Regions from separate parts of the Homo sapiens genome. Here region 2 is linked to region 1. Evidence: promoter capture Hi-C in 16 types of primary human blood cells and fetal thymus (Javierre and others, 2016). All regions are on one chromosome and are shown on one strand. The core of a region is centred on a gene start or on the middle of the fragment in contact, and the rest is flanking DNA. Distances in the headings are between cores, read along the strand shown.

Region 1 (3,768 bases), core at 241-2,740:
GTCCGGCAGGGCTGGGGGTATTTCCCTGCGCTTGCGGGGTGCGCGGCCCTCTCCAAGCCACCCCCGCCCCACGACCAGAACGGACGACTGGGGGGTCCTGGCAGTCACTGTGGGCGTGCTGAAAATAGTCCCTGTGTCGCGAGACCAAATAGGGAGCGCCTTCAGTTCAGGTCATCCCCGGGGCTTCCCCAGGGCCGCCACACGCGCAGGCCCAGCCCGGGACTCTCGGCGCAGCGACTCGACGCTGGCTGCGGCGGGGGGACGCTGGCGGACGAGCCAGGGAGACTTTCGGGGAGGAGGAGCAGGGGTGGTGGGGACCGCGGGCCGCCGGCGGCCGGAGCAGGAGCCCAGACGGCAGGGGTGCAAGGGCGGAACAGCGCGGGCGCCTCCTGGCCCAACCCGGCGCTGTCCATGGTGCTGCCGGCGGCGCTCTCGGGCACCAGGGGGCAGCGCAGGCCGCTGCCGACCTCATCTCCGCGCCGAAGGAGCTGGCTCACGCCGGGCAGGCAGCTGCGGAAGCCCGACGGTTGCTCGGCTCCCCTGGGCACAGGCCAGAGCCCTGTGGGGAAGAGCGGACGCGAGAAACAGGGAGGGGAAGAGAGGGAAGGGGAAGGGGAGGGGGAGGGAGAGGAGGGGAAGGGGGAGGGAGGGGAGGGGAGGAAGGGAGGGAGGAGAGGGGAGTGGAGGTGGAGGGGAAAGGAGGGAGGAAGCGTGTTGAGGAAGGGAAGAGGAGGGCGGAGGTCAGACGACCCGAACGTCTCCCCCGGGGTCCAGACCTACCACCCAGATTGCAATCGCACAGCCAGCCCGGGCTTTACTGCTCCTCCCTCGCCCCCTAGCGAGCTGGGGCCCCCTCCTCACCAACTGCACCTGCCTCCGAGTTGTCCTCTTTATATTTGCTGTCTTGCCATGTTGCCCAGGCTGGTCTCAAAAGCCCGGGGTCAAGCGGTCCTTGAGGTATCCCTCTTTATTTGGCCTTGTGCATCCCTGGCTCTGATCCCACAAGCCTCCCCCTCCTCCCTCCAGCCCTCCCCTATACCTTGCAAGGAGTTCTGAAGGCTTCTCATGTACTTCACGCTCAACTCCAGGATGTCGGCCTTCTCCAATTTGCGCTTCCGGATCTACCCGACCATGGAAAGGTCTATTAGACCGGCCTCCCGAGGTGGAGAGAGGGAGGTTGGGATCGTATCACCCACCCACCCCCACCCCGCCTGAGTCTCACCTGGTGCGAGTAGTGTTTCTCCAGCAGCGACTTGAGCTGCTCCAGTGACACATTGATGCGTGCCCGGCGCTTTTTCTCCATCAGCGGCTTGGAAATCTGCAGATGAACAGCCTTTAGAGTGCAGGACTGCCACCCTCCTGCCCTCGGCACCCCCCCACACCTCCCGGGGAAGGGTGCCTGCCCCTAGTCCCTCAAGACCCCAGACCTTTCGGAAGTTGCCGGGGAGGCTGCCCCGGGCAGCAGGCTCCGTGCCCATGTTGCAGTCCATGCACCAGTGCGAGGCAGCGCCGCCTTTATAGGGACCCTCGTTTACATGTCAATGAGGCCCTCTGGACTCTAGAAACCTTGAGGAGGAGGGGACCGAGGGAGGACGCACTGGGAAGCTCCCCACCTCCTTCCCTCAGCCCCCTCCCATAGCCTAGGCTTCCTCTCACCTTCAGGACCCCCCCTGTCTCCCGAGGGACCCCCCCCTCCCCTTTATCTGTCTTTTCCTTATCTCTCTGGCCTCCACCACTTCCCCAGTCTGAGGACCCCTGCCATGCCCACCCCCTCCATGCCCATCCTGTCCCAATCCCCGTAAGTTCTCCAGTCCCACTTGCCAAGTCCTTGATACCCTGGAGTGCAAGCATTCCAGGGGTCACCTACTGGGGAGGTACATGGGCCAGCTGGCCACAGGCTGCCTCACTGACTATGACAGGGCTCTGGGCTCCCTCGGGACTGATGAAGATGCCAAGGCGACGCCTCTTTATGCACTTCATGCTCTGGTTATACCCGCAACGCCGCATTAGTTGCCCTAATGTCGGGACAATGCAGCAATTTTCTGCCTGTGGCTGCTCAAAGCCAGGCACAAGCTGAGCCCGCGGGGGCCATGCAGCAGCCTGTGTCCCATTAAAGCATGCAGCCCACCCGCGGGGCCACAGCCAGCCTCATCCTTGCTGGGGCCTTGGGATTGGGAGGGGTCCTGGTGAGGGTGCAGCCTGGGTCCTGTGTTCTCTGACACTGCTAGGATCCAACGCGGACTTCCCACAGGAGGCAGGTGGGGTGAACACGGCTGCCTCTCCCTTCCTTACAGCCCTGGGCTTCCAGGCTGGGTGGCTTTGGTGGTAGACCCTGTCCCCATGGAGAAGCACTAGAAGTCTACTCCCATGAGCCTGCTCTCAGCTCCACGCACAGGTGGTGGTGGCAGGAGACCACTGACATTCTGGGAAGAGCTCCAGGCCACACTTCGAGAGATCCAGGGCCCGCACCCCAATCTATGATTCAGACTACGGCGGACCCAGTGGAGGAGGCGCCTGGAGCACTTGCCCCAGGATGGGCTAGGCCTACAGCAAGGCTCTGGGGCCATCCCCCTGGTTGGACTCCAGGAGGCTGAACTGTAGCTGCTGTGATGGACAGGAAGGCTGACCTCCAGGAAGTCCCTGGGTTCAAACCTAGACACCTCCCATGGGCCCTCATGGCTTTAGTTTTTGGGGCTTGTAAAATTATATTCTGAACAATGCAGCCCCCATTGCTTCTGAGGGTGACAGGGAAGTCGCAAAAATTCTGCAGCTGAGCCCTGTGGCAGAGGAATGAACAAACCGGCTTCTGTGTAGGGACTCAGGGTGGGGTGCGCCCCCCAGCTCTATCAAGCCAGGGCATCTCCCCCCAGCCCGCCCCCGCCTACCCTTCCCAGGATAGCGGCGTTCCCAGGCGCCAAGCAGCGTGGAGAATCGCGCCACGCCCTCCCCCTTTCAGGCCGAGGCAGCGGCAACAGCAGCTCTGGGGCTCTGTCCAGCCCGGACCGCAGGGCCCGCGGGCCAGATCCGGGCCGACCCGGGCCTGGGAGGGCGGCGGGGGCCGAGACCAGGCGGCGGGCGCTGGCACGCGCCGGGCAGCTTTGAAGCGCCAGGACCGGCCGGGCCGGGGCGTCCTCCATGCGACTCGCTCCGAGCTTGGGGCGGTGGCGGCGCGGTATAAAGGCACCGCGGGGCGGGCGGGCGGCGCGGCCGGGCACAAAAGGGGCAGCCGAGTGTTAAGGGCATTGTGCGGGCCCCACAAAGCGGCGCCCGCGCCCGCCCCCGCCCCCTCGGGGCCAAACTCCGGGCGCCCCGCCAGGCGCGGACTTCCAGCTGCTGCACATCTGCACAGAGGCCTGGCGCGCGTCGCGCCCCGGCGGGCCTCCCCCTCCCCGCGTTCTCGAGCTGCGGGGCAGCGGGGCAATTTGTCCTCTAATTACAATCCTTCCCTATAAACCGCCGCCCGCGCCTTTCAACTCGAGGGCATTAGCAAACCAATGGCCCTCCGCGCAGCTCTCGCGGCCCGCCGCTGGGTGCCGGGCCCGCCCCCTCTCCTGAGTCCGGGCCGCCATAAAGGGGCCACGAGGCTGCCCCCGCCCGAACCCCGACACCCGCCGTTCCCAGGGCCACCACCCCTCCCAAGCCCGTCCCCTGGGATTCCAGGCGCATCGGGCCGGGGGCGGGGGGACGCTCACGTGGATAGCTTAGTGTTTCTTAAGCAGTGGAAAATTGACCGCAAAATGCTCTAATTCGCAATGTTCTGCTTTGGCT
Region 2 (4,149 bases), core at 1,605-4,104, 220 kb before region 1:
ACCACCCAGCAGGTCAAACCAGGACAAGTACTCTAGCCCAGGACTCCTGAAGGCCCAGCCACGCTCCCTTCCTCCCAATGGCCTCTTGTCATGAACACTGTGGGAGCGGGGCTCTGTCTCCCCCAGAGTCCGGGTGGGGAGGGCAGACACCTTTCCATGTGCTGCCAGCCCTGATCCATTCGTGGTAGCTGCCTGGGGTGCTGTGCTGAGGATCCTTAGGGCAGATCCAGCCTTGGCAGGGAAGAGTGCTGGGCTCGCTACTGAGGTCTGTTGTGGGCACTGGAGCTGGAAGATCTGCCACACCTGCCACATGCTGCCATCTCTGAGCCTCCAGCCCCAGGAGGGCAGAGGGTATAAACCACCGTGCATTGCCCAGCCTGGGGCTGCCTCAGGCCATCTAGGTTTCATGGCCTGGGCTGACTCTGCTCCTGGCCCCACAGTGCCTCAGATGGCTCCACGGAGACCCTGGCCATGGTTGTGGTAGAGCCTGGGGACACGCTGTCCTCCCCCGAGTTCGACAGCGGTCCTTTCAGCTCCCAGTCTGATGAGACCTCTCTCAGCACCACTGCCTCATCTGCCACGCCCACCAGTGAGCTGCTGCCCCTGGGTCCGGTGGACGGCCGCTCCTGCTCCATGGACTCTGCCTACGGCACCCTCTCCCCAACCTCCTTACAAGACTTTGTGGCCCCAGGCCCAATGGCAGAGCTAGTGCCTCGGGCCCCAGAGTCCCCACGAGTTCCTTCCCCTCCACCCTCGCCCCGTCTCCGCCGCCGCACCCCTGTCCAGCTGTTGAGCTGCCCGCCCCACCTGCTCAAGTCTAAGTCCGAGGCCAGCCTCCTCCAGCTGCTGGCAGGGGCTGGCACCCATGGGACACCCTCTGCCCCCAGCCGCAGCCTGTCAGAGCTCTGCCTGGCTGTTCCAGCCCCAGGTATTAGGACTCAGGGCTCCCCTCAGGAAGCTGGGCCCAGCTGGGATTGCCGAGGGGCCCCTAGCCCTGGCAGCGGTCCTGGGCTAGTCGGCTGCCTGGCCGGGGAACCTGCAGGCTCCCACAGGAAGAGGTGTGGAGACCTGCCCTCGGGGGCCTCTCCCAGGGTCCAGCCTGAGCCCCCACCAGGGGTCTCTGCCCAGCACAGGAAGCTGACCCTGGCCCAGCTCTACCGAATCAGGACCACCCTGCTGCTTAACTCCACGCTCACTGCCTCGTGAGTGGCCTGGACTGGGGTAGGGCAGGTGGCTCAGGGCACTGGCATGGGGGCCCACTCATGCCTGGGAGCATCGCATTTGGGGAGGGTCATGGCGGAGGGAGCCTGAACCCTGCCCAGTGTCTGGGCGCAGGGGGCTGTGGTGGGCAGCAGTGAAGGGGCCTGAGGAGTGCCGTGGGGAAGAGAGGGTGACCAGAGCCACTCTGAATGGCGTCAGCCAAAGAAGGACTCTGTCCCCTCCCCACCCTGTAGGGAGGTCTGAGCAGAGGGAGGCCCCCAAGAGTGCCATTGACCAAGAGACAGCAGACAGCCTGCCTCCTGGGGCGTGCCGGCACCTGCTTCAGCTACTGCCTCCTGTATGCATGAGCCGGATGCTGGGCAGGATCCCTGCCTACGCCCGGGCCCGATTTGCGCTTTGCCGGACTGGATGGAGTGGAGGAGGCCCAGGCCACAGTACCACCCCACCTGCCCAGGCAGCCCCTCGTCACCTACTCCCCGAAGTTACCAGCTCAGCTCGAGTCTTCAGGGCTGGGCTCCTAGGCTGCCCATCCTACTTCTACCCTCACTGGCCTCCAGTGGGATTCACTCCTGCCCTGCCCCCACCTTCCCAGTCCCACAGGCCACCCCTGGCTTGGGCTGGGTTCTGTGAAGTTACGTATTTATTGAGCTTTTGGTTCTTTTATAAAGACTTGTCTAGACTCCACTGGGAAGAGTCCTTTGCTTTGGGGCCCAGTGACTCGGGGCACTTGAGTTCAGGGCGGCCTCCTTGTGTTCCTGTGCTCCTCCACTTGCCACGGATGGGCCACGGATGGAGCTTGCCATGGGAAGCACTGGGAAGTAATGGGGTGTGGGGTGCCACCAGACCAACACCCCCAGACTTCCCCACCTTCAGCCACCATCAGAGCCTCTCCCCAGGTGCCCCCCGGGGATTCAGGGCTGAATCTGCCCAGTTCCCACACTCAGGCCAGCCCTCTTGGGAAGGTGGGTCCTCCATGGGGGTCCCTTCAGGAACTTTTTTTTTTTTTTTAATACAGAGTCTCACTCTGTCACCTAGGTTGGAGTGCAGTGGTGTGATGTCGGCTCACTGCAACCTCTGCCTCCCGGGTTCAAACGATTCTCCTGCCCCAGCCACTCTAGTAGCTGGAACTGCAGGTGTGCACCACCACGCCGGGCTAGTTTTTGTATTTTAAGTAGAGACGGCATTTCACCATATTGGTCAGGCTGGTCTCGAACTCCTGACCCCAAGTGTTCCGCCCGCCTCTGCCTCCCATAGTGCTAGAATTACAGGCCTGAGCTACTGCGCTTGGCCCCTTGCGGTACTTTTGGCCCAACCTCCTCCATGGCTGGGGACGCGGAGGCCGAGAGAGAAGTCACTTGCCCTGGCTCTACCTTGAAGTGGTTCTCAGGGTTGGGGCGAGAGTCGGGGTGGGGACCGAGATGCAGCTCTATCCTGTGCCCCTGGTCGCAGCAGGCAGCCCAGCGCTTCGCGTGTTCTACTTGGCCTGTCCGCTGCCGCCTAATGAGCTCAGGTCTAGGCCGAGCAGAGGGGGCACCTGGTCGGACTCGGTTGGGCTCGGGCGGCCCCGCCTCCCCCCGCCCGCCAGGCGGGCCCTTCTCGACGGCGCGGGGCGGGCCCTGCGGGCGCGGGGCTGAAGGCGGAACCACGACGGGCAGAGAGCACGGAGCCGGGAAGCCCCTGGGCGCCCGTCGGAGGGCTATGGAGCAGCGGCCGCGGGGCTGCGCGGCGGTGGCGGCGGTGAGTTGAGACGCAGGAGGCTAGGGGCAGCTTTGAGCCCTGTCCCAAGAGCCTCGGTGAAGGAAGGGGCCCCGGGCGCGTCTCCACTCCAAGCCTCACTGGGGGCTGGGTTGGCCGCCCTTTCCGATCTCGTTAAAGGCTCCTCCAGGGCGTAGCCCTTCCACTGAGAGGAAACCCCTCCCAGGAGGGTCTGGGGGCCCCAGGCAGAGCATTATCAGTGTCCCTCCCCCAACAGAAAGCATGGGTGGGGGTGGGGGCGCTGCTGGATTCCTGCTCTGGTGGAGGGGAAACTTGTGAGGGGCTGGTAAGCGCCCCCTCCGAAGCCTGGTGTGTGCGCGGGGGGAAGGAAGTTAGTTTCCTCTCCACCCATGGGCACCCCTTCTGCCCGGGGCCTGGGAAGTGGGCTGCTCTGTGGGCAAATGCTGGGGCCTCTGAAATGGAGGAGACGCAGCAGGGAGAGGCCCCACGTGGGCAGCTGCGCTGAGAGTCAGCAGCACCTGTCCCCCAGGCGCTCCTCCTGGTGCTGCTGGGGGCCCGGGCCCAGGGCGGCACTCGTAGCCCCAGGTGTGACTGTGCCGGTGACTTCCACAAGAAGATTGGTCTGTTTTGTTGCAGAGGCTGCCCAGCGGGTAAGTGGCCACAGGGGTGGGAGAGGCATGGGGCAGGCAGGGCTGGAGAGGTGGCGGGCAGGCCCGGGAGGTAAGAGGAGGCTGGCAGGGGAGGTAGGGGTAGGCTGACAGAGAAGTAGGGAGCTGGAGAGAAAGAGGGAGGGAGGGCAGGGTGGGAAGCAGGTCGGGGGTTGCTGGGCAGCCCCTCTGCCTGCCTGACCCCTGCCTGGTTCCACAGGGCACTACCTGAAGGCCCCTTGCACGGAGCCCTGCGGCAACTCCACCTGCCTTGTGTGTCCCCAAGACACCTTCTTGGCCTGGGAGAACCACCATAATTCTGAATGTGCCCGCTGCCAGGCCTGTGATGAGCAGGGTGAGGGGCTTCTCAGTGCTTGGCAGGGAGTTCCTAAGGACAGGCCTTTCTGAAGGAAGTGGCTGGCTCGGGCCCAAACTTGGGGTGTGAGGGTCCTGCACCCACCCTTGCCAGAACCCTCCACCCTGATCCTCCTTCAGGGTGCCCTTGCCCCTTCTCTCTTCCTGGTGACCTTCCCATCTCTCCATGTGCCTTGGCCTCTGGTCGGCC

Evidence for each region. The method cuts DNA at HindIII sites, captures the fragments that hold promoters and counts their contacts. A CHiCAGO score of 5 or more calls a contact.
Region 2: a contact is called between the fragment with the promoter of TNFRSF25 here and the fragment with the promoter of HES3 in region 1, in 2 of 17 cell types (activated CD4 T cells and naive CD4 T cells). The highest score is 7.7, in activated CD4 T cells.

The regions. Positions count from the first base shown.
Region 1 is chr1:6,241,901-6,245,668 of GRCh38, reverse strand. HES3 (hes family bHLH transcription factor 3) reads right to left here and starts at 1,490. Exons shown (of 4, transcript NM_001024598.4): 1 at 1,428-1,490; 2 at 1,223-1,318; 3 at 1,040-1,121; 4 at 91-559. The coding sequence starts at 1,303. The coding sequence ends at 162. RefSeq lists silencers at 1-53, 204-363, 207-558 and an enhancer at 795-1,352. The HindIII fragment of the contact is 11,707 bases long and covers 1-3,768 here.
Region 2 is chr1:6,464,878-6,469,026 of GRCh38, reverse strand. TNFRSF25 (TNF receptor superfamily member 25) reads left to right here and starts at 2,854. Exons shown (of 10, transcript NM_003790.3): 1 at 2,854-2,958; 2 at 3,467-3,587; 3 at 3,805-3,939. The coding sequence starts at 2,920. It overlaps PLEKHG5 (pleckstrin homology and RhoGEF domain containing G5), which reads left to right. Exons shown (of 21, transcript NM_020631.6): 20 at 441-1,202; 21 at 1,455-1,905. The coding sequence ends at 1,464. RefSeq lists an enhancer at 2,085-3,033. The HindIII fragment of the contact is 14,059 bases long and covers 1-4,149 here.